Linked DNA regions of Homo sapiens: region 2 is linked to region 1. Evidence: promoter capture Hi-C in 16 types of primary human blood cells and fetal thymus (Javierre and others, 2016). All regions are on one chromosome and are shown on one strand. Each heading gives the region's core, a stretch centred on a gene start or on the middle of the fragment in contact. The rest is flanking DNA. Distances are from core to core; before and after follow the strand shown. Region 1 holds the start of SYNE1-AS2 (SYNE1 antisense RNA 2). Region 2 overlaps SYNE1 (spectrin repeat containing nuclear envelope protein 1).

Evidence for each region. Contacts are between HindIII fragments. The CHiCAGO score rates a contact against its expected background, and 5 or more counts as called.
Region 2: a fragment that was not itself captured here is called in contact with the fragment with the promoter of SYNE1-AS2 in region 1 in 1 of 17 cell types (neutrophils); the score reaches 5.4 in neutrophils.

What each region holds. Positions count from the first base shown.
Region 1 is chr6:152,400,680-152,404,035 of GRCh38, forward strand. SYNE1-AS2 (SYNE1 antisense RNA 2) reads left to right here and starts at 1,567. Exons shown (of 2, transcript XR_007059819.1): 1 at 1,567-1,988. SYNE1 (spectrin repeat containing nuclear envelope protein 1) reads right to left here. Exons shown (of 146, transcript NM_182961.4): 47 at 459-662. The HindIII fragment of the contact is 21,096 bases long and covers 1-3,356 here.
Region 2 is chr6:152,289,750-152,293,105 of GRCh38, forward strand. All of the region lies in intron 95 of SYNE1 (spectrin repeat containing nuclear envelope protein 1), which reads right to left. Among named protein-coding and RNA genes, the nearest start is that of SYNE1-AS1, 89 kb to the right of the region's middle. The HindIII fragment of the contact is 4,286 bases long and covers 1-3,356 here.

The DNA of each region.
Region 1 (3,356 bases), core at 317-2,816:
AATAGAAAACATGGAAATAGAATGTTTTCTCAACTTCTTCTTTTTCAAAAAATATACATTATCTGGATGAAAGAAGTCACAGTGACCAATAAATATAATTAAGTGATGAAAAACTATTGGATACTCAAGTTTGAAAATTTGTGGAAGTCACATAGTTCTTCCAGAGGCTCCACCCTTTTATAAAAAAGAAAAAAAAACTTTGAACAAGCATAGACTCTGAGCAGGCACTACAGCAACACATGCTTTCTATTTTCAAGGTATTCATTTTTGATTTCTGAACACCTGCACCCAGTTCTTCACGTGTTGCTTACTTTGCTGTGTTCAATGTCATAAATAAGTTGGTCTGGTGTTCATATGGGTAACTGAGAGCAGAGGTTATATTTTTTATTATAGTCACCACAAAACAGAACTACAATCACCATTTGAATGGAAGCACTTAATGATAGTTTATTACCTACCTTGACTTTTTTCAATGCTTCACAAGTCTCATTTTGGGCACAGTTCATCAACGATTCTTCCACTTTTGTGAACCATGTTGTTATGTCATTAATAAACTTCTCCACTTGTGTACTTTGAGCCGTGAAATCCTTCAGGGTTCCTTTTGCTACTTCAGTTATTTCTTTGGCATGCTCCAGTTTCTGCATTAAGTCTGCTTCTATAAACTAAATATCAAGCAAGATTTCATCAATATCTCTGAAGACCAGAAGAATACTCATTCAGTAGAAATTCTGTTCACGTGCAGCTTAATTGTCAAAGCCACACAAGTCTCATCATGGAAGCCAGCTCCAATGTTAATATGCCTTTCCAAGAAGGAAAATCAGTGGACACAGTTGCCAAACACATGAAGTGATGGGCAAATAGAAAGAGGAAGGATTGTGTTAACACTGGGTGGGAGAGTGGAAGCTCTAACTGAGGTTCCAGGGAAGATGTGAGAGGGCATTCTGAAAGTAGAGCTAGACCTACCCAGAATTCCCAGGTGGTGACCAAAAATCTGCTCTTGATTCTCCCTGGAAATACCCATTGTCTGCTCAGATGTAACACTATCTGGGGCAAACATCACTGTAGGATTTTATCATAAAACAATTTTATTTTTGTCCCCACTGTTGCTTTAAAATATTGAGTGGGGCTAGTTATTCTCTTTTCCCTGGATGATATAGCTGAGGAGGGTCGACTTCTATGGCCCCCTAGTTAGTCAAAGGACATATAGTCACTATACATTGAAAAACAATCTCAATTCCACAATTCAAACATCCTGGCCTATTTGGTAATGAAAACTTTGAACTTAACTTAAATTGAAGGCTTCTATTCTTACCCCCACCTCAGATCTGCTGGGAGCAGGAGACCAACAGTGTGGAAGGGAGTAAATATCTTTCTTTCTCTTCCTTCATTTTATTTCTATTCTGCCACCCTGTGTAAGGCTTCTTTCTCCCATAGGCTCAGACTGGCAGGAGGCGGGTGAGGCATTCTGACTCACTGGATGGGCATCTGTGCCCTCTAGGCCAGGCAAGGTTTAGCATTCATTCCTCCTCCCATAGGCCTTGGTCTTGTGTTTTTCTGACTTTTTTCATGCTTGGACTTCCCAGTGAAGTTCCCTAGACACGACAGTGCGCTGTTCTTTGGCTCTTTACTTTCTCATTCCTCAGCCTGGAGGCCTTTCTTTAACTTCTCATTGCTAAGGTCTGTTTATCCTCCAGATAGCCTTCTTAGGCCACCTATAATATCCTCATATGGTGGTCTCTTCCTTTCTTTTCCTCTCCTGGTTCATATTTGGGCCAGAGTGACCTCTGGCATTTACCTCCAACTAACTTTGAGGTGCAGGACCCCACAAGCCATCATTTATCCTTTGGCAAATATAGCAGCAGTTAGCCAGCCTGTCTGTCACTTTTAGGATTCTTTGGGGGATAGAGATCAGACTCCCATGCCTGCCAAATGCAGGGGACAAATATCCTGTTCTTCAGGTGGCACTGCCGGAACCCTTCTGCCTTGAGGTAAGGTAAGCCACCCCCTCACCTCTTCCTTGAGTATACATAGGGGTGCATGTATGTGCACACGTGTGTGTGTGTGTGAGAGAGAGAAAGACAGAGAGAGAGAGAAACAGAGAGAGAGAGAGAGAGAAAGGAAGAAAGAGAAGACTAGAGTACACCAATAACTCTCTGAAGATCCTGCTCAACTCTGTAAAAGTCCAACTGTTAACCATTGATATCCCCAACACAGGCGGCATGCATAAGGACTCTTTATCTTTTTTGCATATGGATAGCACCTCCTTTGTGTCTTCTTACTTCACACGAAACTTCTAGCATTCCTGTGCATGTATATCATCCCTAATGGTACTGCTGAACAAGCAGTCTCAGGTCAGAGCAAAAGCATAACTGATCAACTAGATTGATTGCTTAGCCCAAAGTAGCAAATCAAAGAGAAAGCACAAGAAGAAGAAAGGAAATGTAGAGAAAATCAACAGAAGCAGCAACACATATGGAAGCTAAAGGGATGCAGCAGAAACCTGAGCCTGGAGCCAGTGGGGCTGCCAGCCAAAAGAGACCCACCATGCTGGATGCTTCCAGGGCTTGGGCACTGAAGTAGCCCAGGTGTTCTGACCAGTGCTGATCTACCCTGGCCTGCTTCATGGTTCCCGTGGATTTGTGCCATCTGAAGGGCCGTGAAGGGAGGTTTATAGTGGTGATCCCTCTAAACCCAGTTATTCAGTAACAGCATTAGGAAAATATCAATAAGAACATCAACATTCATAAGAAGGGTTTCTAGGCTGGGCGCAGTGGCTCACACCTGTAATCCCAGCACTTTGGGAGGCTGAGGCAGGCAGATTGCATGAGCTCAGGAGTACAAGACCAGCCTTGGCAACATGGCAAAACCTCCTGTCTACAAAAAATTTAAAAAATTAGCCTGCCATGGTGGCACGTGCCTGTAGTCTCAGCTACCAGGGAGGCTGAGGTGGGAGAATTGCTTGAGCTTGGGAGGCAGAGGTTGCAGTAAGCCGAGATTGCACCACTGCACTCCACCCTGGGTGACAGAGTGAGACCCTGTCTCAATAAACAAACAAACAACCAACATCAAAAACACCAAAAAAAGAGGGGGTTCTGTTCCTGTCTAGACATGAAATGGTCCATGAGGCAACTTGGCTGAAATGCTTCCGAAATTCAGTAGGCAAAAAAAGAACTACCCTTATTATAATATTCGAGTTGGAAATATGCTATTAATACTGGCTGAAGGAATGTGGAAATATATTAATATTTTGACTCCCATGTCTGATACAATCCACATGTTTCCTTGGAATTATGGTGATGATGATAACATCGAGGACATATAAAGGAGATATACATATATATGATATATATATATGA
Region 2 (3,356 bases), core at 575-3,074, 110 kb before region 1:
CCAAGTAGCTGGGACTACAAGCGCCCACCACCATGCCTGGCTAAGTTTTTGTATTTTTAGTAGAGACGGGGTTTCACCATGTTAGCCAGGATGGTCGCGATCTCCTGACCTCGTGATCCGCCCGCCTTGGCCTCCCAAAGTGCTGGGATTACAGGCATGAGCTACCGCGCCCAGCCTTTTTTTTTTTTTTTTTTTTAAGCCTACAGTACCTGGTATTCCTGGGCAGTCTCCCATCCAAGTACTAACCAGGCCCAACCCTGCTTAACTTCCAAGATCAGATGAGAGACCACAGTTCTTCTCACATTCTATTTTAGTTGTTACATATATGAAAAAACAAAACAAAACAAAATAACCACAGACCTCTGTGCGCTATATATCACTGAGCTTTGTGTGGCAACACATGTCCCTAAAGCATCAGATGCCCATGATAATAAGGTCGCAATGACAGAGGGCTTAACAGTCAGTACAACAGCCACAAGTCAGCTCATGAACTGCATTCAAACCTTAAAATGAAATCTGTAAGACAGCCAAGCATGGTGGCTCACACCTGTAATCCCAGCACTTTGGGAGGCCGAGGTAAGTGGATCACCTGAGGTCAGGAGTTCGAGACCAGCCTGGCCAACATGGTGAAACCTCATCTCTACTAAAAATACAAAAATTAGTCCAGCGTGGTGGCAAGCACCTGTAATTCCAGCTACTCGGGAGGCTGAGGCAGGAGAATCACTTGAACCTGGGAGGTGAGGTTGCAGTGAGCCAAGATCACGTCACTACATTCCAGCCTGGGCAACAGACTGAGACTCTGTCTCAAAAAAAAGAAATCTATAAGACAATTTAGAGAGGATAACCAGAAAGGCACAGCATTCCACACAAATTCAGTAGTTTAGACAAGTGTTTAAAGGAAAAATGTAGGAATTAGGTTACCTCCTTAAAAAAACATGAATACTTCCAAGAGAGTGTTGGGAAAGAAATAAAAACTAAAGTATTTCTATTACTTTTTAGGAAATATAAAAAACCATACTGGACTTCCTCACACCCATTCAGTTGAAATTTAGAAATAGTAATTCTATAACAGTGCTTGACATTTTTAAAGTACCATTCCTGAAGCTAAGAACAAATTTAGATACTGTGATACCACCAGCTTTTCATGTGGGCAGCTGTGTTCCAGAACTTGTAGAACTTCTGGCACAGACAGCAAAAGGTAGCAAAAATAGCTCAGATGAAATATGTGATGATACATGAAATTATATACTAAATTCTACATTATTGCTATTTTCTTTCCCTCTCATTAGAACATTAATATGTTCTAATTATATTAATATGATATATTAATATATACAATTATATTAATATGATATATTAATATATGCAATTATATTAATATGATATATTAATATATGCAATTATATTAATATGATATATTAATATATGCAATTATATTAATATGATATATTAATATATGCAATTATATTAATATGATATATTAATATATGCAATTATATTAATATGATATATTAATATATGCAATTATATTAATATGATATATTAATATATTTTCTCTCTTAATAAACCATTAAGCCCCAATGACTGGTAATCTTCACTAAATTAGCTGTACCTCCTTACTGCTGTGATGGCTAGTACGACTACTACCAACTTAGAAAGGGAAAAAAAGTCATGTGGTTGGCCTTAATGACAAGAAAAGTCACAGATTCACTTCTAATTTATAATTATCAGAATTAATGTGCAATTTTGAGTTGTCTCCATTAAATCCCTTGAACAGAATCATCATTTTGCTCCACATTCAGTTTATGTGTGTTTCCATCCTAATGCCTGAGCAACAGGGTGGTGGTGCTGATTGGAAGCTAACTTGCATTTTCATGTACGAACTCTGGAAGGGCAGAGCAGGCCACCAGTATCCTGTTTTCATGCAGCTCCTAACTATTGTGGGAGCCAGTGATGGGTCTTTGGCAATTGTGGGCAGCCTCCTGGGCCACAAGAATGGGGGCTTGAACAAAGGTGGAGATGTCCTGAAGCTGGAGAGAGGGTCAAACTACTTAAACTTTCTGCAACATCGTCATCTGATAATCTGAGTGAGTGACTCTCAAATGCACTCTAATCCAGCCCTTGCATAATTTACACTATATTCCTTCTGAATGCTTAAAGAACGGGGCCTCCTACAGAACAGCCATCGAGGTTGGCCTGAGGAGCACATACTCAACCTGAAGGAAGCTCTCTGGCTCCTTCCAGTACAGTGAAGCAGAGGTGCAGGGAACAGCTGGACAGACAGAACCGCAGGAGCAAGGAAGACCTAGGAGCCACAGGGAGCACACTGGAGCAACAGGGACACCCCTTCAGATCAGAAAGAGGTGGCCGCTGGCAACAGAAAACTGAAGTAGCAGCTAAAGAGAACTGGGAGACACTGAGGCCCCTTTAGAAAGGAGAGGGGTTTGGGAGACTAGCAGTCTAGTGATAAAATGGGGGAAGCTCAGAAGTAAATGGCATTGGAATAGTCCCCCAAGCCCCTGACCATCCTCCTGATTGGTCTGGTCTTGGATAACAAGGGTTAATTCTCATTTCGTGCTTTCATAGCATCCTCTGCAAATGTGGCTAAGGGTGGGTGACTGTGGGATAGCAGAAAGACCTACAGAAGGTAGTTTTTTACCAAAATAAGGCCTAAAAATGGACGCTATGCACTTCGATCTCTATCTTCAGAAGTCACAAGAGTGTAAAAAACCTGAAACCACTATTTCTCAATATGCTGTCTCTAGATGAAATGTTCTCATTTTTATGTTATACTGAAAGATATATACTGCAAAAGAATGCAACTTTATCTGACTACACATATGAACAGGCAGTCTATTCCAAGGTTATCCTGCTTCCAAAACTAGAAAGATGTAAAGTAGAAGAAAGACAAAGTACAACGTTTCACTCCTAAAGCTGTTAAGTTACCCTGTGTTGATAAACATGCTTACCATGCCATGCTTTCATAGCTCTTAATTAACATCTAAAAATATCTTTCTTTCCTCCTGCCTTCTGAAGGATTGTCACATGCTCCTGGGTTCTTGTCCCAGCCAGGCAGCATTTTCCTACCTCACGGTGATGAATATGTAGGAGAATGTGTGCCTCAGTATCCTTAGACCCCAGTTATACAAAATAAATATAATTTTAACAGCGTACCTCATTAGACTGCTAAAGTATTAACCAGACTTTAATTTCTGAACATTTCTTAGCATGCATTTTAACTTGACACATTTTTAACATTATCTTTCTGCATTAGATTAATGTAATGATCTCTGTTTTTCATGTAAAGCTAATATTTTGCCTAGTTTAACCTTTTAAAAAATGATTTAAGTCAGGGA